Linked DNA regions of Homo sapiens: region 1 is linked to region 2. The links are contacts of gene promoters, found by promoter capture Hi-C in human tissues and cell types (Jung and others, 2019). All regions are on one chromosome and are shown on one strand. The core of a region is centred on a gene start or on the middle of the fragment in contact, and the rest is flanking DNA. Distances in the headings are between cores, read along the strand shown.

Evidence for each region. The method cuts DNA at HindIII sites, captures the fragments that hold promoters and counts their contacts. A contact is called where the count stands out against the background at its distance.
Region 1: a contact is called between a fragment that was not itself captured here and the fragment with the promoter of IAH1 in region 2, in 1 of the 25 tissues and cell types used here (aorta).

Annotation. Positions count from the first base shown.
Region 1 is chr2:9,698,565-9,704,890 of GRCh38, reverse strand. All of the region lies in intron 3 of LOC105373418 (a long non-coding RNA gene), which reads right to left. Among named protein-coding and RNA genes, the nearest start is that of YWHAQ, 71 kb to the right of the region's middle. The HindIII fragment of the contact is 7,679 bases long and covers 1,081-6,326 here.
Region 2 is chr2:9,469,780-9,476,098 of GRCh38, reverse strand. IAH1 (isoamyl acetate hydrolyzing esterase 1 (putative)) reads right to left here and starts at 1,548. Exons shown (of 6, transcript NM_001039613.3): 1 at 1,452-1,548; 2 at 60-112. The coding sequence starts at 1,532. CPSF3 (cleavage and polyadenylation specific factor 3) reads right to left here. Exons shown (of 18, transcript NM_016207.4): 17 at 4,660-4,756; 18 at 2,998-3,183. The coding sequence ends at 3,082. RefSeq lists enhancers at 1-489, 970-1,737 and a silencer at 1,007-1,776. The HindIII fragment of the contact is 18,322 bases long and covers 1-6,319 here.

The DNA of each region.
Region 1 (6,326 bases), core at 3,671-6,170, 230 kb before region 2:
CCTAGGGAGCAGGTGAAGAGCCAATCAGGCCATATGACTGGCAGGTCCTCAACCTGCCTGATGACAATGATGCTGAGGAGGGGAGGCTGGGCTCAGGGTCCAGGGTCTCTGGTCATCAATCACCCCCAGGCCCCAGGCTACAGGCTCAGAAGCAGCAAGTTCTCCTCAGGGCCTGAGGTTGGAGCTGGGGCAGTGGGTGTCTTAGCAGGAACCAGCTTGGATTTTGCACATTACAGGGGGTATAGGGAAGGGAAGAACCAAGGAATAACTGATACTACAAGTCCCCCAAATGGCAGGATGTAGGGGGCAGGAATTTGATTTTTTTTTTTTTTTTTTTTGGTTTTTGAGACGGAGTCTCGCTCTGTTGCCCAGGCTGGAGTGCATTGGTGTGATCTCGGCTCACTGCAAGCTCCGCCTCCCGGGTTCACGCCATTCTCCTGCCTCAGCCTCCTGAGTAGCTGGGACTCCAGGCGCCCACCACTACGCCTGGCTTTTTTTTGTATTTTTAGTAGAGACAGGGTTTCACAGTGTTAGCCAGGACAGTCTCGATCTCCTGACCTCGTGATCCACCTGCCTTGGCCTCCCAAAGTGCTGGGATTACAGGCGTGAACCCCTGCACCCAGCCGGGAATGGGATTTAATTTGATTTAGGAATATACATAGCCATGTACCCTAGAGAGTCACACATGAGCCTGCTACTGGACAGACAGGGAGCACGGGCAGGGAGTAGGGGGCCTTGCCCAGGCCACAGCCAGAGAAAGCTGGGGTCTCATCTCCCTCCCCACTTTCCAGCCACCATCCCCCACAACAGCAAGGCAGGCCCACATTTCTGAGGTCTGATTTTGTCGAAGCCTCAGATATTCTCTAGAAATGTCAACAAATGCCCCTGGAAAACCACCCTCCCTCTCCTGTCTCCAGGAACCCAGGGCTTACCAAGAGGAAGTTACATGCGCTCACTCATTGACCTCACCTACTCCAGCAGGGGGTGGAGATTAAGACCAGAGAAGTTCCTCAGCTTGCCCAAGCCTCCAAAGGTCAAAGGCTAGCAGTGAGTCAGACTCAGATCCAGGCTTCTGGGCTCCCAGGTCTGGCCCCTCTGCTGCCCCAGCCTCCACTGCTGGGCAGCTGAGGTCTCCCAGAGTCCAGGGTGAGCAGAGCCAAGTGGGAGGGTTTCAAGCTCTCTAGCTGTCAATTGCCATTTGTACTTCCCCACCTGATCACCGCACTCTAGATAGGTAAACTGCATCCCTGCATCCCTAGAGGGTGACAGTAACTGCCAAAATAGGGAGCAGTGGGGTGGCGGGGGATGCTCAGGGACCATGACACATGGGTGGTGACCATCAACCACCAAATATCCCCTGGAACAAGTTGTAAGAACTCAGTGCCAAGAGACATCAGTGGGTGGCACTGAGGAACCAGAGGTGATGAGCTCACCCCAGGCAGTACCTCCCACCCAGATGAGCAAAGCCACACTGTAAAAGTGGCGAGTGCATCCGAGGGTTTCTCAAGCTGACTAGGACACAAGGGAAACCAGCCAAAACCCCCAAGCCGGGCGTGGTAGGTGTTGGCAGCCCGGAGGTGGGGAGTGGTGGTGGCAGGATGCCTCGTTTCCCAGGCAACACAGTGGAAACTGTCCCACAAACACCAACCAGGGGGGTGGGGGGGCACAGAAGGGTGGGCAGGGCTGACATCTGAGACGGGAATCTGCTTAGCTACTGCCAGAGGCCTGCCTCCTCTGAGTGCCTGGGGCCCTGGCCCCACCTCCGGGGATGCTCTCTGTTGGCTGGGTTCTGCACGTATTTATTCTTTCACTCAGTAAATGTTTACTGAGCCCCAGTGTAGACTGTAGTGGGAGAGCATGGGCTCTAAAGTCAGAAAGACTGGGGTCTGGATCTCAGCTGTGATGCTTCCAGTTATGTGCCCTTGCAGGCTACATCGCCGCTCTGAGCCTCAATGTTCTCATCTGAAGAATGGGAATTATTCTACCACATTCAAAGGTTGCCATAAGTATGAAATAGGAGAGTAGATGGCAGATAGTCAGTATTCAGTGGATGCAGCTATTATTGCCTGGCTCCATGCCAGACACAAGTTAGGTCAACTGGGGTGGGTGACTAGGGGAAGGCAGACATGGAAATGTATTAGATGCACTCCTGCCCTTGGGAAGCTCTCCTAGCCTATCGGGTGGAGGAGCCTGACTAGAGTCCTAAATTAGGTGAGTAGAACATCTGGAGAGCCATGGTAGAGATGAGCAAAGTGCTGGGGAGCACCTAGGAGAACCCCAACTGGGGGGTTGGGAAAGGTGTTGAAAAAGCATTTCGGTTAAACTTCATCAGACAAGAAATGAGTAGGAAAGGCATTCCAGGCAGAGAGAACAATGTGTACAAAGGCAGGAAGGCAAAACCTCAGCATGGGTTGGAAGGACAGCAAGTAGATCAACTGAGATAAAGCCTAGGGTAAATGATTTTGATAGTGCCACAGGGACTTGGGGAAAGACAGGAGAGAGAAGATGGCCAAAAATAGGCAGGGATTAGATGATAAAGGACCATTTGACTGAACACTTTGATAACTTTTTAACAGAGGAGTTACACAGGATTGAATTTAGAAAGACCACTCTCTTAAACCAGAAGTGTATTGATCGTGCATATATAGACCTACAGAGCAGTAAAACAGAATCGAGTTCAGGAAAATACGCATGCATATATAGGAACTGGATTTATGACAGAATGGCGTCATACATCAGAGAGGAAAGGACATACTATTCAATAAATGGTATTGAAGCAATTAGTTATCTATATGAAATAATGTATAATTATATCCCTCCCTCACACCATATCCAAAAATAAATTCAAGACCTAAATGTGACAAAAATACTGTAAAATAATTAGAAGAAAATTTAAATCAAGCATAGACTTGTAGTTTCACTACAAGGCTTTTTCTCTGACCTGAGCTGTCTTCTATTTTGGGGGAATCACTACATCCATTGAAGACAATATTTATGACATTGGCATAGACAAAATATACTTAAATCAGACACCAGAAGCAAAAATTATAGGCTAAAAAAATTATCAAATTTGACCACATCAGAATTTAAAACTTCATATAAATAGCTAATTGCTTCAATACCATTTATCAAATAGTATGTCCTTTCCTCTCTGATGTATGATGCCATTCTATCGTAAACTCAGTTCCCATATATGCACAGGTCTTTTCTCTGTTTTATTGCTCTGTGGATCTATATATGCTCTATCAATACACTTCTGGTTTAAGAGAGAGGTCTTTCAAAATTCAACCCTGTGTAACTCCCCTGTTCAAAAGTCACCGATAAAAGACACCATAGACAAAATTAAAACATAAGTATTGATTGGAGGAAAATATATGCAAAACATGATAGACAAAGGATTGGTATCAAGGATGTTTAAAGAACTCCCATAAAATAACAAGGAACAGACAAATGGGCAAAATATATGACTAGGTAATTTACAGTAGAAGAAACCCAAATGGGTTTACTCAACAGAATTAGGAATCAGAAACAGGCAAATTACAACAAGATACCACGGTCACCCATCAGATTAGCAAAACAAAGTCTAACAACATCAAGTGTTGGAAAGGTTGAGGGAAATGGGTCTTCCCATATACAATGGATGGGAGTGTAAATTGACACCATCATTTTGGAGGGCAATTCAGCAGTATCTAGGGAAACTGCAAGTGTAACCCAGCAAGGCTCCTTCTAGGTGTTTAGATAAATGCTTGTACCTGAGTACACAAGGCAACAGGTATGAGGGGGTGATCACAGTGTTGTCTGTAATAGGGAAGAACTGGAAACCATGTACATAACCATCAATAGGAGAAGGCATAAATAAATTGTGAAATGGTCCTGCAGAGGGATTCCAGACAGTAGTTCGGGGGATAGACTAGGGTTATGCGAGCACAAATAAGAGTAGATCTCAAGATGTAACAAAGAATGGATGCGCATGAAACACACTAATCTCACAGCACCAGTCTGTCACATAGGTAGTAATGAAGAGAAAGGAATAAACTGGAAATGGAAGCTGGGAGTTGACAAACAGAGGAGGTGATGTGAACTAGCACAGTGGAATCAGTTCCCTCAGTGGAAACTAGAGTCTCAGGATTCCAGACTGGGAAGGAGCCTCTGAGGGTCCATGATCCAAAACTCTCCTTTTCCAGACTCCCTATTTCCCACTCATCCTCATAGATGCCCAGGCTTTTTCTCTGACCTGAGCTGTCTTCTATTTTGGGGGAATCACTACACATATTGAAGACAAGAGGACTGACCCTCGAAGAAACCAAGATGGCAGCAAAGGTAGTTCCCAGTCTAGGCAGCGAGTTGTAGTAATCAAGGACATATTGAGGCCCTACCATTAGCCCAGCATTGAGATTTTAGATTGAGTTATAAAGATGGGCAAGGTAGATAAGATGTAAAACAGAACAGAGATTGCCAAGCATGAGGAAGCACAAGGGAAGTGCAAGTTTCAGCAGGTCTGGAGAGGAACCCAGGAATCTGTGTTTTTAAAACACACTTAAAGTTATTCTGTTCTAAGTAGTCCACAAACCTTATTTTAGAAAAAATGTCATAGCATACTGGCGCTGAGAGGAACTTAGAGAATGTCCAATCCGATGTCCTAATTACAAGTGAGAAAACGGAGAACTAGAGAACTGACTTGTCAAAGAAAGCTAAAAAGCTACCTTAGTGGAATACGAAGAGGAACACTGATATTAAACCCTATCCTACCTCAAGTATAGACCCAGAAGGCACTTCACCTACATTGTCTCAATTCTCCCAACAATTGAGGCTCAGAAAAGTTAAGTAAGTTGTCCAAGATCTCTTAGCCAGACAGCAGTGGGGCCAAACTCATACCTAGCTTCATCAGACTCCAAAGGCTAAAAAGTCTTTCCAAAGGAAGCACAAAGGCAAGAAATTGACTTATTTTCATAAGGTTTCACCAAAAGAGAAGTGCTAGAGTTTCCATTTCCTCTCCTAGTCTTTTTACTTTTTCATGTTGGAGGGGTGGGTAGAAGAAGGTTTGGAGTTGTTCTCACTCTTCGGTGAACCTTTCCAATCGCCCGTGTTCCAGCAGGGTTCAGCCCAACCTCAGGCCAAAGCCCACAGAACCATCTGGAAAAGTGCAGGTCTGGAAACCTCCTCAGTCAGCCTTTTTTAAAAAAACTTAAGACCTGATGAGTCACTGTGGAACCAGTCACAGATAGGCATGTGCCTTCTTCAGATGCCTTGGTCCGTGGCTGTAGGGAACGTTCTCTGCAGAAGTGTAGATCAGAAGTCCCCCCAGGTGGGCCCATGATGATGCATACAGCTCGAGAACACACGGTTCTGCCCCGGGCCACTCAGTGTGTCACTCGGGATGCTGAACAATGTGAGATCCTGGCTCCAAGGTAGTTATGTTCCCCAAACATACTGTTCGTTATCTCCTCACTTCTGTGCACACCTTTGAACACCTTCTGCTGCAGATGTCCTTTCTCCTCCAGTTGGTGAACGCCTGCCCCTCCCCTATGGTCCATATAGAATAGCTCCTTGTATAGTCACGTGACCATACTGACGTATGCTTGGGGCAACTGGTGAAAATAAGCTTTAGCTAAATAACTTTGATGAAGATCTAGACAAACAGAGCAGGACAGACAGAACCGGGTCAGTCCAAGGATAGGACTCCTGGATGAGTAAACCATTACTCTATCAACCCTCTTCAGGGACATCGCAAAAAGAACAGTGTCTTGCACTGACTAAGCAGCCTGGGACAAGTCTCTTTCCCTCTCTGAACCCCCGAATCCCCTCTTTAAAATGGGGACACTGGGGCCGGGCGCAGTGGCTCATGCCTGTTGTAATCCCAGCACTTTGGGAGGCCAAGGTGGGTGGATCACCTGAGGTCAGGAGTTCGAGACCGGCCTGGCCAACATGGTGAAACCCCTTCTCTACTAAAAATACAGAAATTAGCTAGGCGTGGTGGCGGGTGATACCAGCTACTTGGGAGGCTGAGACAGTAGAATCGCTTGAACCTGGGAGGCAGAGGTTGCGATGAGCCAAGATTGTGCCACTGCACTCCAGCCTGGGCAACAAGAGTGAAATTCCATCCCAATAAATAAATAAATAAATAAATAAATAAATAAATAAAAATTGGGATACTGGATGTTTCTTACAGGTCCCCCAGCTCTGACAACTTTATGGCTTCATGACTCTGGGTCCCCTTTCTCTTCTCCTGAGGGTCATCTGGTGCCCTGGAGAGTGTATGTCCCCACCTGTTGATGCCGGCACTGGCCTCTGCCCTCACTGGCCTCAGCCTAAGGTGGGGCTCACTC
Region 2 (6,319 bases), core at 299-2,798:
GACGGATCCCTAAGACATTTTCCATCCATAAGAACTCAAGTATCGGAAACCATTCTCACCTGACCAGCCTGTCAGCCAGCGATGCTCCCCATCCACCCTGCTGGAAGGAAAACTGGAGGAAGAAAAGCCCATTATTACTACTAATGACTGTAACCGGGCATCTCAGCGAGGGCAGTTCTGATTGGCAACTTCTGTTTTCTCGGCGCTCCCTTCTTGGCTTTGATTGCTTCACTCCAGGAGGTCATTTTGGGGATTACAGGTAAGTACACCTGGCAGCACTTTAGCAGAGGGGGATTTTTCTCTATCAAAAGCTAAACAGCCTGTATTCCCAGCACTTTGGGAGGCCAAGGCGGGCGGATCACATGAGGTCTCGAGTTCGAGACCAGCCTGGTCAACATGGCGAAACCCCGTCTCTACTAAAATTACAAAAATTAGCCCGGTGTGGTGGCGCACGTCTATAATCCCAGCTACTCGGGAGGCTGAGGCAGGAGAAACGCTTGAATCCGGGAGGCGGAGCTTGCAGTGAGCCGAGATCGCGCTACTGCACTCCAGTCTGGGCGACAGAGCGAGACTCCGTCTCAAAAAAAGAAAAAAAGAAAAAAAAAAAAAAGCTAAACAGAAATCTAAGTTCAGGAAATAAAGTCAAAGGTCAGTGAGGAAATGAAGGCCACACCGCCTCACTGCTTTGCTGGTTACCGAGCTGAGGGTGAACACTTTTTCATACACATTCCCATGGAATTCGGCAGCTCTGACTGCCCCATATGCCTAAACATAATGTTACCAGTTACTGGCGTATACACAAAAGCCTGGTGAAGCAAGTCCTGTCTGAGAAGAGGACACACACAGGAATGGAATTTCTACTCCCTCCCCGAAGTAAGAACCTGCATTTAGAAGACCGTTCCCTTCATGGGAGGTGAGATGATCTTGGATGAACGGATGGTCCTTTTCTACCTAATTCCTGAAGGCGTTTTACTTCCAAGGTCAACCCCTAACGGCCCCACCTGTGCCCGCAGGGAATGGGGCGAGAGAGCTCCTGGCGCCTCTGCCCGGAGCTGGCCGCGGGGCCTCCTGGGACACAGCGCGCGGTCGCCCGCGGCCGCTAACCCGGACCCGGAGGGGAAAGGCCGCTGCCCAGGAGGGCGCTGAGGGGAAGACCGCGCATCTCGACCCGGGTGGGAGGCGGCGCGGGGCGGGCAGCGCGGCCGGGTCCCCTCGCGTCTGTGCCTGGAGCCCGGGCTCTCGCGGACGCCGTCGTGACCTCCGGGACGCCGCGGGCCCGGAAGGCGCAGCCACTGGGGGACCCGCCACTCCTCCGGTGTCTCCACGGGCGTGGCCAGGCCTCCGGCCCAGCCGTCTCGGGCGCCGAAGAGGACGGCGAGGAGCCTCGGCCTGCTCGGCAGCGACCCCGCAGGGAGGCCGGGGCGGGAGGCCGAGCGTCGGGGCGGCCGTACCTGGGTGATGGAGTCCCCGAAGAGCAACAAGCGAGGCCAGAGCAGGGCACTCCCGCAGCCCGCGGCCTCGCACAGCGCCATGGAGCAGCCGGGCGGGGCGGGGCGGGGCCGCCAGCCACGAGAGGCGCCTGCGCAGTGGCCGCCCGTGGGTTGCGGGAGCCGGGCTCGTGGGCACCCACGCAGTCACTTTGGTGACGCGCGAAGGTCGTTGCCCCTTGGAGTCCGTTTGCAAGAAGCTCGGCCTCCGCGCTTGCTCACCCACAGCAAGGCTGCCCCCAGGGAGTCCGGAGCCCGCGTCCCGCTGCGTGGTTCCCGGAAGAAAAGCGGTTGGGGGCCCTTCTAAGCCCACCCCGCGCTCCGCGGGCGCAGGTGCGTTCGGCAAAGGGCAGGAGTGTGACCTCAGGACGCGCGGCGGGAAGCACAGCTGGCTCTCGGTGGGGCGGAGGGCTGCTCCAGGCCCCCCTGGAAGAGGTCGTGGGATGCGCGCGCGGCCTCCTGCGCCCAGCGTCACTCTGGAGGGCCTGTAACACCCACGAGGACGCAGGCACTGCGGAAACCCTGGCAGTACCTCGTGGTTCTGCGAATGACAAGGGAAAGCAGCTGCACCTTCAGTGCGCGCGCAGCCGGCCGCTTTTCTTTTTCCCGCCGTGGGGTGGATGCGCAGATGCAGAACCCCGCGGACACGGAGCACTGACTAACTTCCAAGGGATTCACCTGTTAAAACGTGGTTGTAATGCAACGTTCTTACCTCAACTGTGCAATGAAGTTCGGCAGCCGAGCTAAAAACGAACGGGTGGGAAGGATGCCTTGAAATCACGGAGCTGTAGATGAGTAACAGAAGGGCCAGGGGCGCCGGCGCAGAGGCCGACCCCGCTCCCTGGGGCGGGGCGATGGGCGTAGAGCATGACTTTCTTTAGGTTGCTCGTCCCAAGCTCGCTTGGATCACCTGGGGGAGCTTTACAACTAAGATCCAACCTAGGGCCCTCATTCCAGCCGGACTAACTCACCTCCTGGTGGCAGGACTTGGGCACAGGTGCACTTGTGATGCACCCCACGTGATTCCCACGGGTAGCCCAGATTGAGAGCCCCTGCTAGAGCAAGCAAAGGTGCCTGGACTTCATCTTTATCACAAGGACTTCATTAAGGCCTTCAAGCAGCAGAGGCTTGAGGCCAGGTCTGTTCCAGGAATCAGCTATAGGGGAGGAGATGGAGGTGGTTGCAGGAATTCAGAGGGGAGAGTAGACTTGGACTCGAACAGCAGCAGTGGAGATGAAGACAGAAAAGATTCAAGTGCAACTTAGAATCCTTATTATTAACTCAAATTGGTTACCCCAGAGGAGAGGGTAACCAGCAGCGGTTGCTATCGGCAGATCTTGATGGTTTCAATGGGAGCTGCACATACATGCCTGGAAGAAGAATCCAAAATTCTAAAATAATGGGCAGTTGATCTAGTAGTTAGTTCTAGAATAATGGACAAATTAATTAGCAATTTAGCAGTATTCAGGCTGTTGAAATAAAGGCCATTTGACATTAAAAGTAAACAGGCTCCCCCAGAGAAACGAATGCATTTTATTTTAGGTAACAAAAGTAGAGTCAAGTATTTTTTCAAAGTTCATATACAGGCACAGTCTCAGTGAACTGGCGTCAGGGCCTCGTACAGTCTCTGTGCAGCCAGCTCCACCATTTCTCGGAGGGATTCATCGTCTTCACTTCCCTCTTCACATTCTACAGTCTGAAAGTGAGGCACAAACAAGACTGTTAGAATTAAGTCTATAATGATTATATAGAAGATAAATGAATACTCTTTAAAAAAACCATCATCTCATAAAAAATTAGCCAGCTGTGGTGGCGTGTGCCTGTGGTCCCAGATAAGAGTCTGAGGTGGGAGGATCACTGAGCCGGGAAGGTTGAGGCTGCAGTGAGCTGTGACTGCACCACTGCACTCCAGCCTGGGCGGCACTGCGAGACCGGGTCTCAAACTAAAAAAAAGAACAATCATCTGTGTGTGCAGAGGTCATGGTGGGACTGATTACCATGAAACAGAACGGCCGCCCTACACACTTGTGGGCGTGCAGTGCTTCCTGACAGCAGCACGGTCCTAATTAGTGATGACTTGAGGCTGGGGTGAAAGACTGGGGAAAGTCTAGTAAACTACATTTACATCAAAGCCCACAGTTTGATCTAGTAAATGATACTCCAGGGAAGTTCATCTATGCCACACAAATTACTTGGCAAGGAATGGATGTGGCTATCTACTCAACATTTGGTACTGAATTTGACTGAAACTCACTAATAATCTTCTAGTTGCTTCTTTTTTTTTTTTTTTTTGAGACAGAATCTCGCTCTGTCGCCCAGGCTGGAGTGCAGTGATGTGATCTCAGCTCACTGCAACCTCTGTCTCTTGGGTTAAGGTGATTCCTGGGTTCTCCTGCCTTAGCCTCCCAAGTAGCTGGGATTACAGGCACACCACCACGCCTGGGTAATTTTTGTATTTTTAGTAGAGATGGGGTTTCATCATGTTGGCCAGGCTGGTCTCAAACTCTTGACCTCAGATGATCCACCCACCTTGACCTCCCAAAGTGTTGGGATTACAGGCGTGAACCACCACGCCTGGCCTCTAGTTCTTTTTTTTTTTTTTTTTGGAGACAGAGTCTCGCTCTATCATCCAGGCTGGAGTGCAGTAATGTGATCTTGGCTCACTGCAACCTCTGCCTCCCTGTTTCAAGCAATTCTCCTGCCTCAGCCTCCTGAGTAGCTGGGACTACAGGCAGCTGCCGCCATTCCCGGCTAATTTTTTTTGTATTTTTTAGTAGAGATGGGGTTTAACTGTGTTGCCCGGGCTGGTTTTGAACTGTTTGGAAAATCCACTTGGATCTTGCTGGTGCAAACAGAAGAGCGGCTTCTTTAAAAAATGGAGAGTCAACTAGATGCCAAACTAGAGAAGGGATGAGGTGAACTAAGCTGTATTATGGAAGAGGACAGCAATGGAGTGGCATACACGCGAACCTTGTACTATGCAGTAACCCGGAAAAACACGGAAAACTTCAACCATAATAATATAAAAAGAACAATGTGAAAAAAATGTTGGAAACACTGGAAGCAAATGCCAATATGCAACAGTAGACTGTTGAGTGTGAGAGCACAGATTATTTATGCCTTCACTTTATTTCCCAAATGTCTTGAAACGTAGGAAAGAGCAGCTACATACCCGTGTCTCCAAGTTAAGGTTGGCAGTTTTCCCGTCCACTGTGACGCTAAGAATAGAGTCATCCTTTACACTTACACAGTCTTCTCCAAATATGTCCCTGAAAATAAGCAGAAATGCAGGATTAGTGAAAATGCCCGGCTTTATATATTTGAGGAAAAAATAAAACTGAAGATAGGTCCTAGTTCTAAAGCAGAATACTGTATTTACTTTTTTTCTTTTTTTTTTTGAGATGGAGTCTTGCTCTGTGGCCCAGGCTGGAGCGCAGTGGCACAATCTTGGCTCACTACAACCTCCGCCTCCCGGATTCAAGTGATTCTCCTGCCTCAGCCTCCCTAGTAGCTGGGATTACAGGTGTGCACCACCACAGCCAGCTAATTTTTGTATTTTTAGTAGAGTCAGGGTTTCACCATGTTGGCCAGGCTGGTCTTGAACTCCTAGCCTCAAGTGATCCACCTGCCTTGGCCTCCCAAAGTGTTGGGATTACAGGCAGGAGTCACCATGCCCAGCCTGTATTTACTTTTGAGACAAGCTTCTTATTTGCCTTGATACAGCTTATTAAGTTTATAAAACAGGGAAAATACACAGCTTTATTCAAGAATGATCTATTCAGCAGGCATCATGCTAGGTGGTTTATATACATTATCTTAACCTATAATTTTAGTAAGGATCCCCTTTTACATGTGAAGAAAACAAGACACAGAAGTTAAGTGATTTGCTTAAAGCCTCACAGCTAGTAAACAGCTGAGCCGGCATTCAAATCCAGGTATCTAGGTTTAAATGGCTCCCAAGCCCACTAGCTGTGCACTCCTACTTTAATTAAACTTGGTATTTATTGAGCATCTTCTGTGTGGCAGATTCCTTCTGTGCTAGTAGCTGGGGATAAAGAAGGCACTAAGACATTGCCTCTGTCATCGAGAGAAACAGTTTTGATGGTTAATTTCAACATCGTCCCCATTGGTACAGAGGTGTTAGGAAACAGCAGTCCACCAGCAGGCTGAATGCAGGTAAGAAAGGCAGGCAGTGACTCTAAACAACCCATGGACCATGGTCAGCCTAGGACAGTTAAGCACTGACAACACTGTATTAAGCGGGGGAAGTGGGGAGTGGGAATCAACTCCTTGCATCTTCAGGCAGTTACTGCTCATCATATGTGTGAATAAACTTAGGTGGGACCCTAGCACAAAGGAAAAGATTATATTTTATTTTATTTATTTATTTTGAGACGGAGTCTTGCTTGTTGCCCAGGCTGGAGTGCAGTGTCCCGATCTCGGCCCACTGCAACCTCTGCCTCCTGGTTTAAGCAATTCTCCTCCCTCAGCCTCCTGAGTAGTTGGGATTACAAGCACCCACCACCACACCTGGCTCATTTTTGTATTTTTAGTAGGGGTATTTTGGATGGGGTTTTGCCATGTTGGCCAGGCTGGTCTCGAACCCCTAACCTCAAGTGATCCACCTGCCTTGGCTTCCCAAAGTGCTGGGATTACAGGTGTGGGTCACCACACCCAGCCAAAAAAATTATATTTTAAACACAGAAATGTATTCAAAAGGATAGGAAAAAAGGTTCCATTTTCATGTGATCCACTGTTGGCTTCTCTGAAGAAACCAATACATCTACTCCTATCTAATCCTAAGTGTTTAAACAACTGGGGAAATAGCTGCA